Linked DNA regions of Homo sapiens: all the other regions are linked to region 4. The links are contacts of gene promoters, found by promoter capture Hi-C in blood cells and fetal thymus (Javierre and others, 2016). All regions are on one chromosome and are shown on one strand. Each heading gives the region's core, a stretch centred on a gene start or on the middle of the fragment in contact. The rest is flanking DNA. Distances are from core to core; before and after follow the strand shown.

The links. The method cuts DNA at HindIII sites, captures the fragments that hold promoters and counts their contacts. A CHiCAGO score of 5 or more calls a contact.
Region 1: a fragment that was not itself captured here is called in contact with the fragment with the promoter of DIO3OS in region 4 in 1 of 17 cell types (M1 macrophages); the score reaches 5.2 in M1 macrophages.
Region 2: a contact is called between a fragment that was not itself captured here and the fragment with the promoter of DIO3OS in region 4, in 2 of 17 cell types (naive CD4 T cells and M1 macrophages). The highest score is 6.0, in naive CD4 T cells.
Region 3: a contact is called between a fragment that was not itself captured here and the fragment with the promoter of DIO3OS in region 4, in 8 of 17 cell types (M1 macrophages, M2 macrophages, naive CD8 T cells and 5 more). The highest score is 8.6, in M1 macrophages.
Region 5: a contact is called between a fragment that was not itself captured here and the fragment with the promoter of DIO3OS in region 4, in 2 of 17 cell types (M1 macrophages and naive B cells). The highest score is 6.6, in M1 macrophages.
Region 6: a fragment that was not itself captured here is called in contact with the fragment with the promoter of DIO3OS in region 4 in 1 of 17 cell types (M1 macrophages); the score reaches 5.1 in M1 macrophages.
Region 7: a contact is called between a fragment that was not itself captured here and the fragment with the promoter of DIO3OS in region 4, in 1 of 17 cell types (endothelial precursors). The highest score is 5.2, in endothelial precursors.

Annotation. Positions count from the first base shown.
Region 1 is chr14:100,787,337-100,790,036 of GRCh38, reverse strand. No RefSeq gene overlaps it. Among named protein-coding and RNA genes, the nearest start is that of MIR2392, 26 kb to the left of the region's middle. The HindIII fragment of the contact is 2,004 bases long and covers 359-2,362 here.
Region 2 is chr14:100,720,857-100,723,556 of GRCh38, reverse strand. No RefSeq gene overlaps it. Among named protein-coding and RNA genes, the nearest start is that of DLK1, 4.7 kb to the left of the region's middle. The HindIII fragment of the contact is 460 bases long and covers 1,079-1,538 here.
Region 3 is chr14:100,753,624-100,756,323 of GRCh38, reverse strand. No RefSeq gene overlaps it. Among named protein-coding and RNA genes, the nearest start is that of DLK1, 28 kb to the right of the region's middle. RefSeq lists an enhancer at 1-1,188. The HindIII fragment of the contact is 709 bases long and covers 1,008-1,716 here.
Region 4 is chr14:101,559,015-101,561,714 of GRCh38, reverse strand. DIO3OS (DIO3 opposite strand upstream RNA) reads left to right here and starts at 1,293. Exons shown (of 2, transcript NR_152588.1): 1 at 1,293-1,463. DIO3 (iodothyronine deiodinase 3) reads right to left here and starts at 220. Exons shown (of 1, transcript NM_001362.4): 1 at 1-220. The coding sequence starts at 218. It overlaps MIR1247 (microRNA 1247), which reads left to right and starts at 1,293; the gene lies at 1,293-1,428. The HindIII fragment of the contact is 17,616 bases long and covers 1-2,700 here.
Region 5 is chr14:100,698,419-100,701,118 of GRCh38, reverse strand. No RefSeq gene overlaps it. Among named protein-coding and RNA genes, the nearest start is that of DLK1, 27 kb to the left of the region's middle. The HindIII fragment of the contact is 1,508 bases long and covers 565-2,072 here.
Region 6 is chr14:100,664,267-100,666,966 of GRCh38, reverse strand. All of the region lies in intron 1 of LINC00523 (long intergenic non-protein coding RNA 523), which reads right to left. Among named protein-coding and RNA genes, the nearest start is that of LINC00523, 8.3 kb to the right of the region's middle. RefSeq lists an enhancer at 1-369. The HindIII fragment of the contact is 5,308 bases long and covers 1-2,700 here.
Region 7 is chr14:100,645,778-100,648,477 of GRCh38, reverse strand. No RefSeq gene overlaps it. Among named protein-coding and RNA genes, the nearest start is that of LINC00523, 10 kb to the left of the region's middle. The HindIII fragment of the contact is 2,606 bases long and covers 1-2,553 here.

The DNA.
Region 1 (2,700 bases), core at 111-2,610, 770 kb after region 4:
GTTCACCTTTCAAATCCTATGCCCAGGCTACCTCCCTAGCAGACAGTCAAGGGTGGCACCAACATGAAGTGCCACGTCCCAACCTATGTTCAGGACCTGGTTTGGTTCCAGGCATCTGAGCACTTCCAACAGGTGGTAGGACCACCCAAATGTCCCCCAGCCACAAGTGGAGCAGGCGCCACTGGGAGGAGGACAGAGCCTGTGCAGACCGGAATGTTTAAGTGCCTGCAGTCTGGTTTCAGCTTTGCCTCCATGTGGGACCTACATTTATTGGTCTTTTTATTAATAACTGACCAGCACCAGGCTCAACAGCAACTCTGGTTTTTGCAGACTTCTTCCCATTCTTCAATCAGAAGCTTCAGGGGTGCAAGAGATCTTTAGGAGAAGTTTCCTGAGCCCCATGGTCTGCGGAGGTTTTCTTTCCATTTGAAACAAGTCTTTGAAGTCTGAACAATTCTCCTGGAGGGCTGCAGGCCTGGGAGTCAAAGCATTTCAGGGATTTGAGACCACGCACGGAAGGGAAGGCCACTCAGTCTTTCCTGAGCTCACGGCCCCTTCATCCATCTGGGATGAGGGCCTCCCCTGAGTACAGGCCACTCAGGCTCCTGACACCACCCTGCAGAAGTCCTCCGTGGCCACAGCTTTCTGGAGCTATGCTCAACCTCACTACAGAAACATCTGCATTCAAACCTGCCGTTAAATTTGAGGAGATGGCCTAATCCTGGATGTGCACCCCAAGCCCTACTTAAGAGGCCTCTGAATTCATCAGCCCCAGATATCCCTTAGACTTCAAAGCCATCCTCTGGATTCCAGGGGGCAGCCAAGAGGTTAGGGTGATGTAACATCTTGATGAGTTGGGAGGGGTGGCCGTCCCAGATCAAGTGATGCCTTCCAGGAACCAGGGACAGATTTTAGGCAGAGACCCACAGTACAGACATTCCCGGCCTTGCCCCGCCCTGTGCTAGGTGAGGACGGGGCTATGCCCTCCCTCCAGTGACCTGAGACATGCATGGAGCTCTGGACAGGAAGTCCTCCCCCAAACCCTCTCTCTTGCAGGCTGCTGGTCTCCCAGCACCATCACGGGAGGGCAGCTCTGTGTGCGCAAATACACGAACACCAAGGTGCTGCTTCATCTATGGGTTTTAAAGAGAATTTCAATATGATTTATCTTCCAATACAGGAACTTGGCAAGATCTGCTTGTTCCAGGATCGGGAGAGCCTCAGAGCAAGGTCTGGGTGGCCCTGCAGGGGGAGAGTCAGAGGACAGCGGGAGGTAGCCGGCTGGGGAGGCCTCTCCCCACAGATGGCAGGAAATGGGGACAGGCCGCCAGGCAGGATTGGCCCAGGCCTTGAGGCCACAGGGGGGCCCCACCTCCAGACGTGCCTGGCCTGGGTTTCCTGGCCTTTGGCGCTGGAAGGCCACACAAAGATGGTATTCATGGTGAGGCCTTAAATTCTCTCCGGAATGAGGCAGGGTTTAAATAAATACATAAGAAGGTTGGATCCTGGGCCAGACTGAGCTTGCACAGGGCGGTGGGTGCTGTGAAGGCCGAGAGAGAGAGAGGGTGCCCCTCCCATGCACACCCAACTTTGTGCAAAATTAGTAAAAAAATGTTTCTTCCATGTCAATTAATGGGGAACTCCCGTGCACCCCCATTCAGTGAGAGTCGTGAAGGATTTGTGTTTGCGGATAGCTCTAGGGGCTGACCATTTACTGGGTATTCTCCATGGGTCAGGCACAGACTGGATGTTACTCAAGACTATAAGGTGGGTAGTAGGTCCTGGGATTCACCCGTTTATTCCTTTACAAAGAGTGACTGGGCTGAGGGCACTATTAAGTATTGGGGTTGCTGGGATGAGAGGACTCCGAGACACACTCTGCTCTCATTCAAGTCACAGTGGGGACAAACAATTAGAAAAGGAGACACCGAGAGTCAGCCCCAGAGCCTAGCTCGTGCAGGCGTTGGGGTGAGTGAAACAGGTTCTCAGCTCTGCTTTGCAGATGGGGAAACTGAGGCAGAGACTTGCATTAGGAAATGGAAGCTAAGTGCTGCGTCCTGGAGGAGGTGCATTCTTGGGGCTTGCAGGGCTGCGGGAGGGGTGCTGAACCCTCCGCTGTCATGCGGGGCACTGCCTCCGGATCTTCACCCCGCTAAGCCAGCCCAAAACTGCAGGAAAGGCGTTAGAATGACCTTTGACTTCTGAATGGCGTAGTCCAGGGCCGGGGGCCCAGTGACTCTTTGCTTGAAGCAGAGTCTGTAGTTTTAAAGGCTCTGAGAATGGCAAGAGAGCAAAGATGGTGGGCCCGGCCCGGCAGGCGGCTGGCCATACCAGCTCCCTCTCCTAGGGCCTGGGGGAAGCTTTGCGATGGGGTCCGGCAACTGAAGAATTGCAAACATTCTTCCTGTCTCCCTTGATGGTTCTGGGTTCCAAAAGCCAGACGCTTCTAAAGAGAGAGGTTTTGGAAAAGCTAGGACACCCTGCAATCCTGCCACCCAGAAGGTCATGCCTCAGGGACGGGGAAGAAATGTGGGGGAAAGTTTTGGTCTCTTTTCGGGAGAGTTAGGAGATTTCCCCTTGGAAATGGGGTTTTGTTGACGAGTCCCCATCTCCCAAAACCTCAGGCACTTTACAGTTACCTCACTTGAAAGGGGTCTTTTAAGAAATGCATAAACCCCCAGTGGGGTCAACTCCGCCCAA
Region 2 (2,700 bases), core at 59-2,558, 840 kb after region 4:
AGTGTTGCTGGGCTTTGCCGGGGCAGCAGAGGAGCTGGTGATGAGCAAAAGTTTTCCGAGGGAAGGAAAGAAGTGTTGTCTCCAGCCCTTTTTCCTCCCCGCTCCTCTGCTCTCCCCTCCTGTCTGCTCCCCCTCCTCCTTTTCTAAACACTAACTCTTCCTCCAGCCAGCCCCAGACCACTTCGCCCCTGATTAAAGGCAGAAACACTGATCAGGGCAGCTCAGCTGGGTGGAGCTAGAGGGGCCTCTGAGACTTACTAGTCCCGGGCACCAGCGGGGATGGGAGGGCAAGAGCAGGGGTGGCCGGCGAGGGGGCTTCACCCCACCTTCACATTCTGCTCTGCTCACCACCCCCACAGCCTCGGTGGGGATCTCCATGCCTTGAGGCTTTGCTTCTGCCTAGACTAGGTTTTTTTTTTGGTTTTTTTTGTTTTTTTTTTTTGCCGGGGTGGGGGGATCTGAGCCCCCACTGATCCAGTCCTAGTGGGCATCCTACAGACAAGAGATGCCTTTGTCCCCTGTCCCCACACCCAACGTTCTCCATCCTCCCTCCAAGAGAGAAGGAGGGTGGGCTCCCCCAGATCTGCCTGCTCTTCCTCCCCAAGGGACTGACCAAGGCGAGGACCAGTGCCCAGAGACTCAGGTGGCCTAGTTAGAGTCCTAGAACCGGAACATCCAGGAGACAGCTGGGCAGGAGGCTCCCCCGCCAAGAAGCCACCATCCCTGTGTTGAGGGCTTACAGGCAAGCAGGCATTGCCCTTTCTGCATCTCCCTCACTTCTCCCTCGGATTTAGACTCTAATTTAACCCTGTCTCATCAGAGCCTCCTCACGGCCTGGGCTAGGTGGGGACTGCCCAGAGTCCACTGGGCAGTGGCTGAGCACACTGAGGCTGGGGGACCCCAAGAGAGGTGCATGGCTAACCAGTGGCAGAGCTGGAATTTGAACCCGGGTCTACTCAAAATCCCAGTGCAAGGCTCTCTGCCCAGCCCAGCGGGGTGGTTAGAGTGCATGGAGCCTGGAGGAAAGTGGGCTCCCCCAGAAGCCTGCCCTCCCCTCCTTGGGTGGGAGGGGGAAGCTTCACAACCTGGGAGGCTGTGAGGGTTTCATGCAAACACCAAGGAGACACGCAGCTGCCACCTCTCGGAGTATTTTTCCAAACCTGAAGCTCATCTTTGGAGACAAATTCTCTTTTCTTCTACCGAGGAGAGGGGACCTGGGGGCAGAGGGTGGAGGGAAATGAAAGACATAACCTGATACATTTTCCAGAACATGAAGGTTTGGTTTCAAGTTTAATCAGAGAAAAGGTCTTCAGTGTGAAGTGGCATCGTGCTCAGCCGAGCTGGGAGTACGGCTGCAGAGGGACACATGCTGAGCCTGGCCTTGTGCTTGGCGCCTGAAGAGGCGTATGACAGTTCCAGGCCCACTCCAGGGTTCTCCAGGGCGGCAGGGTGCTGTGGGTGGGGGCGCAGAGCCAGCCCGTATCCCCGAGTCCCCAAAACAGGCCTGCGTATCACTCCCCCAGGCCCCACAGCAAGCTTCTGGGAAGGAAAAATACCAGAGAGCTGGGGTGCAGAGGGGACTCATTGGTTTGGGTCTATATTTAGAGTTGGCTTCTGTGGGGTCTCACCTCTCCCCCAGACAGAACCAGTTTCTCGTCATTGCTGATAGGATTTAAAAACAGACTTCTCGTTTCCTTCCTTGCCATTGGAATCAACAGGGATGTAAGTCCACAATGTAATTGTCCACATCATCAATCACATGATCCTCTTACAGAGCACCACTGAGTCATGCTGTGCGTGGGGTGCTCCCAGGGGCTTGGAGGGGTTAATAACAACTCCCCACCCCACCCCAGAGCTTGTAGATAGACTCACTCCCACTCAGGAGGGAGGAAATCAGGGGCCGGAGGAAAAAGGGGCCTTTTCATCACTCAGCTTGTCCACGCAGGCTTTGGCCAAAAATGCAGGAATTCATTCATCAAAAATTCCCAGAAGTTAATTTTCCATAAAACAGAGGCTCACCTCTTTAAATGTAGCCTTTCATCTGCCTGGTATTGACTGAGCTCCTACTGGGTGCCGAGGCTCGGCGGGGTCCCTGGAAGGAGGGTGCAATGATGGATTTGAAGGTGGTTTCTCATCTCAGAGAGTTCAAGTGCGGACCCAGTGCTTAGACACCCTCTGAGATGCAGGGTTGTGGATACTGGGACTGGCCACACATGGGAAGGGCGATCATGCATCTCTCAGAGGGTTAGTCCTCAGCTGTGTGTGCAGAGTACACAGAAGTTCTCCAGGAGGGTATGGGGAGGCCCTTCCAGGCAGAGAGAGCTGTACAGGCACAGATGTGTGAACGAGACATGAGTGTGTGTATGCATGCACATGAGATGGCGAGGAAGTGTTGGCTGTTCTGTTAGTGAGGGCAAAGTTAGCATGGTGAAGAATGAGGCAGAATGTTGCAAAACTTTCAACATTTCGGACATAAATCTCTTAACTATTCTCCAACATTCTGCAGCCTCCTTTGCCCTGGCAAACAGTCCACGGAACAAGAAGCCCTCTTTTGTCATACCAGAGTCAACCTTCGCACATGTCATGCCCAGACTTGATGCTAAGTCTTGGGAATCAGGCTGGGCCACCCGACCCTTCCCATCCAGTGAGGCACCAGCCCCCACCACCTACCTCCCCAGTAGGGCCCAGCTCGTGGAGACC
Region 3 (2,700 bases), core at 113-2,612, 810 kb after region 4:
AATAAGATATAGAAATTTTGCTCCAATATATCTTCCTTCTTTTCTCATTTCTTTGTGCTAATACTGTCTTATAAAATGCATCTTGATATATTACAAGCCTAACAATACAGTTTTATAATTATTGCTTTATTCAGTTATGTTTTACATCAATTAAGAGAATAAACAAGTAAAAAAACATATTTATGCTAACATTTACATTTACCTTCACAAGTGCTCTTTATTTCTTCATGGAGATTCAAGTTATCGTATGATGTGATTTTCTTTAGCCTGAAGGACTTCCTTTAGCATTTTTTGTAAGGCAGGTCTGCTAGCAAAGAATCCTTCCCGTCTGTTTATCTTGGGATGTCCTTATTTTGCCTTCAGGTTTGAAAGATAATTTTGATGGATATAAATTCTTGATTGATTGGTTTCTTCTTTCAACACTTTGAATATCCTACTGCCTTCCAGCTTCCATTGTTTCTGAAGATAAATTAGCTGTAATCTGATTGTGGTTCTCTTATACATGATGAGTCATTTTACTGTTGTTCCCTTGAAGACTTTGTCTTTGATGACATATGTTATAGTCACAGTCTTTGCCTATGGTGTGTCTAGGTGTGGATTTCTTTGAGTTTATTCTATGCTATGATCTGAAGGTTTGTGTCACAAAATTTATATGCTGAAATTCATATGCTGAAATCCTAACCCCAATGGTAGTAGGAGGTGGGCCTTTTGTAGATTAAGCTATGAGGGCAGAGCCTTTGTGAATGGGATCAGTGTCCTTATAAAATAGGCCCAAGAGAGCTTCTTCACCCCTTCTGCCATGTGAGGACACAGTGAGAAGGCACCATCTGTGAACCAGAAAGCCAGCCCTCACAAGACACTGAATCTGCTGGCACCTTGATCTTAGACTTCCCAGTCTCTGGAACTGTAAGAAATAAATTTCTGTTGTATCTAAGCCACCTAGTTGATGGAATTTTGTTAAAGCAGTCCAAACAGACTAAGACATTCCACTTGGAGTTTGTTAAGCTTATTGTATTTACATACTAATATTTTTAAGCAAATTTGGGACATTTTCAGCTATTCTTTAAAAGAAAAAAAAAGGTTTTACCCCTTTCACTTGATGTTGTCCCACAGGTCTCTGAGAAGTGCTGTTCATTTTATTCTGTTCTTTTTTCTTTCTGTTCTTTAGACTAAATGGTTTCTATTGCTTGTCTTCAAGTTTGCTGAGTCCTTCTTCCTCTAGCTCAAACCTGCTGTCGAGCACCTCTAGTAAATTTTCATTTCAGGTATTATACTTTTCAATTCCAAAGTTTCTATATAGTTCTCATTAATACTTTGTATCTTTTTGTTGACTTTCTCTGTTGGTTAGACATTGTTGTCTCATACTTTACATTATTTCTTTGTTTTCTGTTTTTTGTTTTTTTTTTTGAAATAGGGTTTTGCTGTGTTCTCCAGCCTTGTCTCAAACTCCTGGCCTCAGGTGATCCTCCCACCTCAGCCTCCTGAGGAGCTAGGATTACAGGCATGTACCACCACACCCAGCTGCTTTAATTATTTAAACATAGATTCCTTTAGACCTTTGAACATGTTTATAGTAAATTATTTTAAGTCATTGTCTACCAAGTCCAATATCTGAGCTTGCTCAGAGATAGCTTGTATGCACTGCTTCTTTTCTGTGTATGACCACATTTTTCTATTTATTTGTATGTTTCACCATGTTTTTGGAAACTAGAAGCTTTGGATAAATATTATAACAAATCTGAGTTCTGATTTGTCTCCCCTAGAGGCTATTGCTGCATTTATTTGTGTGTTTAGTGACTTGCCTGGATAAATTATTTAGAGCCGGTCTCCCCTCCAGTGTGCAAACATGGAAATCTTATTTGTTTGTTTGCTTAATTCCTGCCTTCATTTTAAACCTTTTCTATAGATTAAGCATAATCTGGGTAAGCATCCTTAATAGGCAGCCAATGATTGGTCAGAGGTTTTGCTTAAACACCTTCAGCCAGTAAGATTTCTGCCCTTTGGTGTGGTGAGGCACACACTCAGAGGGCAGGCAGTTTACAAGTGTGCCCACCTTCACTTGCTGTTTGTGCAGGGCCTCGTGGTCAGCCAGGAACAAACAGATAACTGGGCCCTCTCCACTCTCTCCTGCACATTCCTACACCTTGGGCAAGTGCACAGCATTCCAGATTCTTAGAAATGTGTCAGGTTTATCAAAGCCCCTATGGTTGTCTTATTTCCCAGCTCTTTCTTGTAAATTTTTGGCTGGTTGCTGCTTTCCCAAGTCAGTGTCACAGACTTAGGTAGCTGTGACATTGGCCTTCTTTGATTGTCTGCTATAGAGATGGCCTCTGTTTTGACAGTGTTTCTGGACATTGTGCTTTTCTATGGAGCTCCAAATTAGATCAGCCCCCTCTAGCAGCAGCAAGACTTCTGGGTTTATGGTTGCCACACCACAGAGTTCAGAGAGAGGTGGGTGGGAGCAGCCCTGTGTTGAAATGGCACAGACCCCGCCACTGTCAACAAAGGCTCAGCTGTTTTTATTAAATAAATGTCTTTCCATTTGTTATTTGTCTTTGGTTAATGTCCAGAGTTCCGAAATGGTTGTTTTTGGCAATTTTGTCCAATTTTATCATTGTTCTTATAGGGACAGGATTTGCTGTGGTCCTCCTTCCACCTTTCTCCCCATTTAACTTTAAGCTCCACTACTGCCAGTCACTT
Region 4 (2,700 bases), core at 44-2,543:
CCCAGGAAATGCTTGCGGATACACAAGAAATCGAGAAGCCAGAGCATGAAGGCCGTGCCGAGGAAGCGCGGGAAGAGCACGAGGCACGAGGCGGTCTGGGCGCAGAGCCTCAAGGAGTGAAGCAGCAGGGAGCGGAGCATGGTGGCTGCAGGCCCCGAAGCCCCCTGGGACCCCTCGCCCTCTCCGACCACCAACCGCGACGTGGCCTGGCGAGGCATCTGGGCTTCAGCAGTGCAGGGAGTTCAATTTATAGCGGAGGCTTCAATTGGCGGGAGACTCCACCTCCGGCCCGGCCCGCCCCCTTGCAACTTGAGCCCGGAGGGATCACCCAGCAGCGCGGCCAATGCCCTAGAAATCTTGGGCTGAGGGCGGGCGCAGGCGGGCGGAGGGCGGAGCGGCCGGGCCTGGGGCCGGTGGGGGCGGGCCCGGGCCCCGCAGCCAGCTCTCGGGGGCGGGGGACTCCGGCAGCCGCTGCCGCTGGGGACCGGGAGCCCGACCAGGGACCTGGGCGTCCGCTGGGGAGGTCCTCCAGCTGGCGCGAGCGCTGCGCGCCGCCCTGGTCCCCGCCGCCTGGCTCCGGCCCGCGCCCCCCTCGCCGCGCACCTGAGCCGAGCTCCCCGGCGGCCGCCGAGCCGCGCCGGAGCTCCGGTTCGCTTCCCGCGCGCCGCCGCCAACGCCGCCCACGCCGCTGCCGCTCGTGCGGGGCCGCTGCCCAGGTGCCGCGGGAGGCCGGGTCCGCGGCCGCCGCTTCGGTGGCCCCGGCTCCCGCCCCACCGAGGACGCGGGCCAGCGAGGAGGCAACTTTGCGTTCCCGCCGCCTTCCTGGCTCGCCCGCGGGCGCCGCTCGCCTGCCGGAGCCCGCCCGCCCGCCTCCCGCGCGCGCTCACACTCGCGCCTCGCACACGGCCGCCCCCCGCACCGCCCCGCCACGCACACCGCGCTCCGCGCCCCCCGCCGCTGCCCGAGGCTGCCGCGCGCCGCCCCAGCCCGCGCCGCCCTGGCCGCGCCCGCCCCGTCCCATCTCGTTCCAGCGGGGCGCCGCGGTTCCTGGGTCAGCGGCCGCCGGGGCCGGGCTGAGAGGTGCGGAGGGCAGAGCCCGCGGGCGGGTTACCGCCGGGCGCCGGAGACCGGAGAGCTGGGGAAAGCGGCGCCGGCCCTGCGCCCCCAGCCGACCCGGGCGCGGGGCGCCACGGGCGTGGGGCGCGGGGCAGCGGGCGCGGGGCGGCGCCGGCCCCGGGCGGCTCTCCCACTAGGGGTAGCTGTTGCCTGAACGCCGGAGCGCTCCCCTCTCGCCGCTTGCCTCGCCCAGCGCAGCCCCGGCCGCTGGGCGCACCCGTCCCGTTCGTCCCCGGACGTTGCTCTCTACCCCGGGAACGTCGAGACTGGAGCGCCCGAACTGAGCCACCTTCGCGGACCCCGAGAGCGGCGGCGCGACTCACCGCGGAGGCGCCCGGACGCGTCAAGTGCGTACTTTCAACCGTAAATGGGTGCTGAGCGTTTAGGGGTGCGGGGCAACTCCCTAACTCGTGGGGCCCTGGCCGGCCCTGCCGCGGCGTCCGAGACCTTCTGATCCCTCGCTGCGCGCGGCGCGGGGTTGGCGACTTGGGCTCAGGGGCGGCGGGGCGGGGAGGTGCCTTGACCTAGGGACCCAGAGGCCGGGAGCAAGTCTCCTTTCGCCTTGGACTGCAGTGTCCCCCAGGGCAAGGCCTGAACCAGGTCGCGAGGGTCTGTCTCCCGTCTGGGGAGCTGAACTGCCCGAGACACTGTCGCAGTCGCGGGGACTTGTCTGGAGCGGCGGGGTCTGAGCCCAAGTCGGAAGCCGCCGCCGCCGCCAGCGTCCCGTGCGCCTGCCGCCCCGGGACCAGCCGCGAAACTTCTTCTCGGGACGGAGACAGCGCTCGCCGCCCGGGCCGAGGTAGGAGCTGGCTGGGCTCGGTAGAGCGCGGGCGAATCGCTTTCGGCAGCGAAGGAACGTGTCGGGAGAAGCCAACTGCAGGACCAGGGCCCCAGCGGGCGCGCAGAGACGCCTGCCTTGGGCGGAGGTCCCCCCCTCCGGTTTTCGTGGCTCTGGTAGGGCCCTCTGTCCCGTGAGCTCCTCACTGGACCTGAGGCTACAGGCTTCAGCAGGTCAAGCGCCCGAGTGTGCCTGGAGGATTGGCGGCGGGGTGGCATGAGAAGGTGGCCCCTCTTCTCCATCTCCCAGTCAGGCGATTTCTCTGCTGTCTGGGGCAGGGGCGCACACCCCAGGAACTTACTACGTAGAGGGAAGCCAGCCTGGTCTCTCCCCCTTGCGTCAGTGCTCCTAAGCTGCCCCTCACCACTCTGGGTAGGGGTCTTTCAGGTGGGCTAGGGAATTCTCCTTGGAAGTCCCCTTGTTTGCTCCCCTCCATCAGGGCACCTCTGAGTTAGCCAATCATCCTCTTTTCTGGCCTCTTTTTTGCGGGGAGGAGAGTAGAGAGAGAAGCCTCCTACTCGGCAGGTCTCTGAGAGGAGGTTTGGGGGGGCTTCTGAGGTTGCTCCTCCTGGGCAGAGTCAAGGGGTGTTGAGGGTTCCAACTTTTACTGGACAATCTCTCAAGCTCTGATTCCCTGATTTCTGGGAGGTGTCAGTGTAGGGCTTGTGTCCTGCCCCACCCACACAGCATTTGGTGCAGGCACATGGGATGGTTCCCCAAGCCCTTTTCCCACAGTTAGTTTCAGA
Region 5 (2,700 bases), core at 69-2,568, 860 kb after region 4:
CACCTCCCAGCCAGACTAGGGCCAGCCCAGCAGAGACAGGGGCTCAGCCTGGTGTTTGCTGTCCCTTCTCAAGTTGTTCTTACTCGACAGTGCTTTCACCTGCCCCGGACAGAGCCCTAGCCCACGCTCTGCTTCTATCTCACACTACCATGACCCCCTCTTCCTGCTGGCCACTAGGAAGCTCAGTGCCCCTCCCTGTGGCCTGCCCACAGGGTCTGCACAGCTTCATGCTGGCCTCTGTGTGCCTCACCAGCTCCCTTCCCCCTGCCCGGTTTGCCCTCATCCCAGCCTCCCTCTACTTGCTATGTGGGTGTCACTAGATAAGCCACTTTAAAGCCATTCTGGAGCAGAGTGAAGGAAGAATAACATCAAGGCCTTCAACAGTGACATTGTGTGACAGCTGGATTTTTCTTCAATTTTTAAGGTATTAACACAGAAGGAAATCTGCGCGGTTCTGGGGCTTCGGGATTGACAGCCTGCAAGGGGATCCTGCAGGTGTATAGGCAGAGGGTATTGACCTGCCCGGCCCCTCATGAGGCCAAGGATGGATCTGAAGAACAAGCTTGGTCCAGAGCACTGCTCAGAACTATGTCACAAGCCACCAAGGCCATCTTCAGATCTGGGTGAAGGTGGAATGAATGAATGAATGATTGGATGAATGAATGAGACCTGAGCTTTCCCACTTCCAACCAGCACAGAGCCTCATGGCCTGGCTTTCACTAGGAGCGTGGATCCTCCTGGGGCTGCAAACTGGTAACCACAGAGCCCTTCTTGCCCTCCCGCAGCCCCCATCCACCTGCCTTGCTGTGGTGGAATGGGCAAGCCCTGCTCCCACTCCCTACCAGAACCTTGCCTGGGCTCCAATCCTAGTCCTTCCATCCACCAATGGTGTCACCTTGGGCAAACTTCTGTCAGCTGCCATTACAAATTTCCACATCTTGGTGGCTAAAAACAACAGAAATTTATTCTTTCATTGTTCCGGAGGCCACAAGTCCACAGCTCAGGTGTGGGCAGGGCCGTGCTCTCTCCAGAGGCTCTAGGGGAGGGTCCTCTCAGGCCTCTTGCAGCTTCTGGTCCTCCAGGTATTCGTTGGCTTGTGGCAGCCTCCTTCCAACCCCTGCCTCTGTCTCCACACAACCTGCGTCTCGTCTCTGTGTGTCAAAGGACACCTGCAAGGGACTAAATATCCAAAGGGACAGTGGCCATACCATTGAGGTTTGCTGTCCCTTTTCTTTTTTTTTTTTTTTTTTTTTTGAGACGGAGTCTCGCTCTGTCGCCCAGGCCGGACTGCGGACTGCAGTGGCGCAATCTCAGCTCACTGCAAGCTCCGCTTCCCGGGTTCACGCCATTCTCCTGCCTCAGCCTCCCGAGTAGCTGGGACTACAGGCACCCGCCACCGCGCCCGGCTAATTTTTTGTATTTTTAGTAGAGACGGGGTTTCACCTTGGTAGCCAGGATGGTCTCGATCTCCTGACCTCATGATCCACCCTCCTCGGCCTCCCAAAGTGCTGGGATTACAGGCGTGAGCCACCGCGCCCGGCCGCTGTCCCTTTTCAAGTAGTTCTTACCCAACAGTGCTCTTGCCTGCTCCCAGACAGACCCCAAGCCCACTCTCTGCTTCTATCTCACTCTGCCATGACCCCCTCTTCCCACTGGCCACCAGGAAGCTCAGTGCCCCTCCCACAGGGGTCTGTTCTGAAAACAGAACGCTGACCCACACCTGCAACAACCTGCCAGGAAACTGACCCCACATCCCCCATAAACAGTGGAGGAAGCCAGCCTGCAGTGAGCCAGGCTTGCAGGAGGCCCGATAGCCATCTCTAGTGACAATGCAGGAAGCTAAACCGTGGCTTCTGTGACAATTGGCCCCAAATGGCCAGGACTTGACTCCTAACTGACAGCTTCCTATTTTTGTCCCACTTCTGACTAACGGCCAACCAGAGAAAGCCAAATATGCACCCTAGCCCATCCCAGGTGATGCCCCGATGCTAGGTAGGCACCTCTGGCTCCCCCACACCAACAGCCTCCGGTCAGAGCACACCCAAAGCAGCTCCAGCTTTCCCTGCGAAGCTTCTCCGCTCCTCTTCCCACCTTTGAGTCTCTGCCCAACACAAGTAGTGGTAGCTGAGCCCAGTCTGCAGAAAGCTCTGGATAAATGGCCTCTGCTTCTCTCGTTTGAGCGGCCCTTGTTTATTTCCACACTTGTCACTGTATTTAGGGCCCTCCCAGATAATCCGGGATGATCTCAGCTTGAGATCCTTCACTTAATTTCATCTGCAAAAACCCTCTTTCCAAATAAGGTCACAGCCACAGATTCTGGGAATCAGGAGGTGGACGTGGCTTTTTGGGGCCACCATTCACCCACTACAGCAGGTACTTCGACACTTTTGGCCTCGGATCATAGGAGGACCTGCCCCACCTGGCTGCCCGGATGGTAAGTGAATACGTGCTTAGAAAGCCCTGGATCAGAACCTGGCAGGAGACACAGTGCACAGGTATCCATTACTGTTCATAGAGTGGGGAGGGGAGGCCCCGCAGTGAAGACATGAAAAAAACAAATCAGCAGAGCGCAAGGTTTCTTTTTGGTGATGGAAACGTTCTAAAATTAGATTGTGATAATGGTTGTACAATTCTGCAAATTCACTAAACACTATTGAATTAGATACTTAAAAGGAGTGATATTTATGATGTATAAACTCC
Region 6 (2,700 bases), core at 52-2,551, 890 kb after region 4:
CACCCACCTCACAACCCCCTGGACGCCTGGAGATGCAGGCCAAGACTGTCTGAGCTACTGGCATAGTCTGTACTTATCCCCCTGAATTCTTCCCTGTGTCTCATGAGAAGGAGAAGCACAGTCTCACATCTCCAAAGCCAGAATGATGAGGGGGTCCACTCTGTCCCTGAGCTCTTTTTCTTCTTTGTCAATAATATAAGGAGGGCACCAGCCTGTCTGACCCTAGAATCTATCACTCTGCAATGCCTGCCTGGATGGCTGCTGATCTTCACCCAGAAAGCCAAGGCTGTTGAGATAACAGTACCAACTCAAAGAGAAAGGAAAGCACGGGATCGCTGTAGCAAGGGGCCAGGCAGCATTCTAGTCCTTGGATGGGGATCCATGGGGGAGGTGTCCCTGGGCACAGCACATTCCTTCCCTGTGCAATGGAAATCCCTGCCCCCAGGTGAACACAGTGGGAAGGGCTGGAGAGTGGAGAGCAGGGACTCGGCCAGGCTGGCTCTGACCCACTCAGTCCTCTCTCACCTGCTCTGTCTGTCTGGATCCCATTGAGTGCTCAAGTCACTAAAGCACTACCGTTTACAGTCATTTGCTAAATGGATGGTCCACACCTGGGCAGTTTGTCCCAAACCCTGAGGCAGGGTTCATCCTGCTGTTCCTGAACAAGAACTTCCAAGGCTGGTCTGGGGGAATAGAATCTTCTAAAGTTTTCCAGGTGATTTTCCACAGTCAATGAGAAGACCTGGGTAAGGGTCCATGAGCCTACACGCTACCAAAAGCGCCTGGGAAAGCGCAAGGGGGAAAGCCCAGGTGTTAGGTTCCGAAGGCGCTGGGGAAGCCAGGCTGCCCCGAGAACGTCCCCCTCTGAGAGATTTTAGGTGAGTCACCTCTCTGGGACTTCAAGAGCCAGCCCAGTAGCACCCTCCTCTGGGATGGAACCATTGGTCTTTCTCCCGCCTTCCTTCTGTCTTTGCCCCGACACTGCCACCAAGGCACTCGGCACAGTGAGTGTTGCTTCCCATGGAGTGTGAGCCACCGACTGCCACCACCACCAGCTCATGCCTCTTCTGTGCCAGATGAGTCAACTGCCTTAAGTAATTCTCACAGCAACCACCTGCCATTCTGCCCACTTTCCTGGTCAGTAAACAGTGCCTCACACAGAGTTGCAGCCTGGCTGAGTTGCAGCTCAGCTCCACAGACTCAGAAGCAAGTCAGCTTTTGATCACGGAACCTCCTGGAAGGCAGAGTCCCCGGACTTCGCCCTCCCGCCCTCCCTCTCTTCCTCTTGCAAACAGTTGTTCAAGGTCTGCTGTGTGCCAGGCATTGTCCCGGATGCCAGGGCTGTGAAGACACATCAGAACGGCCTGCCAGGGGAGACAGATGCTGGGGCAAATGCTCCCAGGGCAGGGTGGCAGGAGCTGGAACCGAAGGGAATTCAGGATGCCATTTAGACTACAGGGTCACAAGGAGGAAAAGGATGTCTCTTTGGGGGTGGGGTATGGAGAGACGCCACAGACAAGGCAGAAAGTCTTTGTTTTCCTGGGGCCCCCAGCACACAGCAGGAATGGCTAAAAGCCTAGAGGACACAGCAGAGCTTCCAGCCTGTTTCTTGCTCGTCTCAGTCATTGAAACTCCTCAATTTCATGATTGTACCAGCCCACATCTGTTTATGCGCTCATCGGAATCCGCGCTGACAATGTATTTGTTTAATTTCCAGCAAGAAGGGGAAGATTTGTCAGGGTCAGGGATACGTCTTGCATAAAACATTCTGATTAAACTCTGTTGGCCAGAGAATTACTTTCCCATCATACTTAGAGAAATCTAGTTGTTTCCTAATTGGAGTCGCTGCCTCGCCAGCGTGTTCACCATTTACAGTTCACTCTCTGCCAGATGTTGCTTGATTGTAAATTCCTCCCCAGAAGGGGGCCCCAGGTGTCTTGGGAGAGGTGCTAACTGGCACAGGCCATGGGAGGCCTCTGCATGCTGAGCTGGAGGAGAGCCAGTGTCCTAACTGGAGGCCGGGAAGAGAACGTCCTTGTCTACAGTGGCCGAGGGGGGTGGTTATTAAAAAACATGGGACCAGGGCCAGGTGCGGTGGCTCATGCCTGTAACCCCAGCACTTTGGGAGGCCGAGGCTGGTGGATCACAAGGTCAGGAGTTCGAGACCAGCCTGGCCAGTATGGTGAAACCCTGTCTCTACTAAAAACACAAAAAAATTAGCCGGGCATAGTGGCACACACCTGTAATCCCAGCTACTCAGGAGGCTGAGGCAGGAGAATCGCTTGAACAAGGGAGGTGGAGGTTGCAGTGAGCCGAGATCAAGCCACTGCACTCCAGCCTGGGTGACAGAGCAAGGCTCTGTCTCAAAAAAACTAAAACAAAAAAACCATGGAACCAGCAGAGTGTCTCAGCATCATCAGCTGTCTGATAGGTGAGAGCCCACTTGGAGCCAGAGATGGGGAGGGCTATTGTGCTAGCTTGCTGAGGGCTGAGTCGGTCCTTGGCCTTGACAGAAGGGGCCGGCAGAGGGGCACTGCAGGAAGCCAGCAAGCAGGAGGCCTCACTCAGCCTTGGATGGGGCAGAGAGATCGCCAAGAAGGCGCAGTAAGGAGCTGTCTGCCTCCCGAGAGGGTTTTGGGTGAGGACAGACTTTGAGTCTGTCTTGAGGAGAGTGGGGGGGAAGCAGGAGGAAGAATGGGG
Region 7 (2,700 bases), core at 1-2,500, 910 kb after region 4:
AACACAAATTCATAAACTTTCCTAAGACATTATGAGATTTTTTTTTTTTTTGCAATTTTTTTTAGTACATCAGCAATGGTTAGTGTTAGTGCATTTTATGTGTGGCCCAAAACAGTTCTTCTTCCAATGTGGCTCAGGGAAACCAAAAGATTGGACACCCCTGGTTTAGATGGTTGACTAATCTCTCCTGTTGTCTTAATGAATAGATCCTGGCTTCTGTTGAGATGGCCAACCCATACTTATCTCTTTTTTTTTTTTTTTTTTTTTTTTTTTTTTTTTTTTTGAGATGGAGTTTCTCTCCTGTCACCAAGGCTGGGGTGCAATGGTACAATCTTGGCTCACTGCAACCTCTGCCTCCTGGGTTCAAGTGATTCTCCTGCCTCAGCCTCCTGAGTAGCTGGGACTACAGGCATGTGCCACTACGTCTGGCAAATTTTTGTATTTTTAGTAGAGACAGGATTTCGCCATGTTGGCTGGGCTGATCTCGAACTCCTGACCTCAGGTGATCCACCTGCCTTGGCCTCCCAAAGTGCTGGGATTACAGGTATGAGCCACCGTGCCCAGCCCATACTTATCTATTTATCAGTCATTTAGCCACATCCTTGTTCTCTCTCCAATATGTTTTGTCATTTTTTCCAATATGGATAGGCTGAAAATTTTCCAACTGTTTAAGTTCTGCTTCTCTTTTGATTGACAATTCTGTCTTTGAATCATTTCTGTTTTCTCACTTTTTACTATAAGCAGTCAAGAGACACCAGGCTACACCTTCAACACTTTGCTTAGAAATTTCCTCTATCAAATATCCAATTTCATTGCTCACAGGCTCTACCTTCCGCAAAACACTAGAACATGAACACAATTCAGCCAAGTTCTTTGTACTTTGTAACAAGGGTGGCCTTTCCTTCCTTGTCCAATGATACATTTCACCTTCTGTCTGAGTTCATCGGAATGGCCTGTGCCATCCATATTTCTACCAACCTTCTGTTAATGACTGCTTAGGTATTCTCTAAGAAGCTGGAGGCTTTTTCTGCAGCTCTGCTCCTCCCCGTCTGGGCCCTCACTAGAATTCACCTTATGATCCACTCACAGCAATGCAGGTTTTTCCTAGAATGCACCTCAAAACTCTTGGCAGTCTGTACCCATTACCCAGTTTCAAAGCCACTTCCACATTTTTAGGTATGTGTTACAGCAGCACCTCTACTTCTCCATAACAATTTTCTGTCTTAGCCCATCTTGGCTGCTATAACAAAATACCATAAACTAAGTGTCTTATAAATAACAGAAATGTATTTCCCATTGCTCTAGAGGCTGATAAGTACAAGATCAAGGGACTGGCAGATTTGGTGTTTGGTAAAGATCTGATTCCTCCTAGACAACATCTTCTTGCTGTATCCTCACGTGGTGGGAGTGGGAAACTAGCTCTCCGGATTTCATTTGTAAGGGCACTAATACCCGTGAGGAGCGCTCACCTCTCAAAGGCCCCACCTCCTAATACCATCACCTAGTAGGGGTTTTGGATTTTAAAGTATGGATTTTGCAAACATTCAGATCCTAGCAAATGGTTAATGGAAAAGTACAGCAACCAAAAACGTGCATGGTGACAGAGGACTCACAGCCTTCATGAAGGGAGACTAGGCTCACTCCACTAGTTAGAGGCCAGCTGAGGTTCTGGCTAAGGACAGGGGAAGTGTAGAATGGGTAGTTGAAGAAGGAAGCCATTGATATCAATTCTAACCTCACAACTACCTTACAGAAATGAGTCCCATAGTAGCTATTTTCTACTTGTTTGTTTTATGTACATACTTATCTGTAGAGGCTAATCATTTTTTTTGAAACAGGGCCTCACTTTGTTGCCCAGGCTGGAGTGCAGTGGCGTGATTACCGCTCACTACAGCCTCAACCTCCCAGGCTCAAGTGATCCTCCCACCTCAGCCTCCCAAGTAGCTGGGACCACAGGCAAGTACCCACCATGCCTGGCTAATTTTTTAAACTTTATGTAGAGGTGGGGTCTTCTTATGTTGCCCAGGCTGGGCTTGAACTCCTGGGCTCAAGTGATCCACCTGGTCCAGCCTCCCAAAGTGCTGGGATTACAGGCGTGAGCCACCACACCCAGCCTAGACTAATTATTTTCTTCCCCTCCTTTCCATTTTTATTTTATATCCAAACTGTTGGAAGTTAACTTCACAGTTTAGTGTGTAGGTAATAAAATATTTAGTGGAAATGCAAATGAATTTGAGGAGTAATTCACATAGTCAGTGACAGAAACACTGGCTGCTGGACTGCATGTCTCCTCGTTTCAGAGAGAGGGCAGAAACTGTCATGGGTAAGATCTGTAGCTGCATCTTGTTAGGTGGAGATATAAAGATGTTTTGCTGCTGTACAGGAGTCCAAATGTGTGTAGTACACATGGAAGGTGAGTAGCCAAAGGGGTGGACCGTGCCAGTTATCAATTTATTGTCTCCCAGCTCCGAATCTGCCCTGCATTGGCTGTTGTATTAAAAAATGAGCTGGTGCCTTTGTGATTTTCTTTGCCTGTCGACACCACATTAAGCTTTGTCAGCAGAGGGCGCTGGAGAGACAGGACAGGAGGCAGGGATTTTCCCTCCTGGTACTGGGCGGTGGCTGGGCAGACTCCTGCAGTGTGGGCGGCCTCTCCAGCAGTGCGGTGAACGCAGTTGGCAGCTTCCCTCTGCTCTCTCT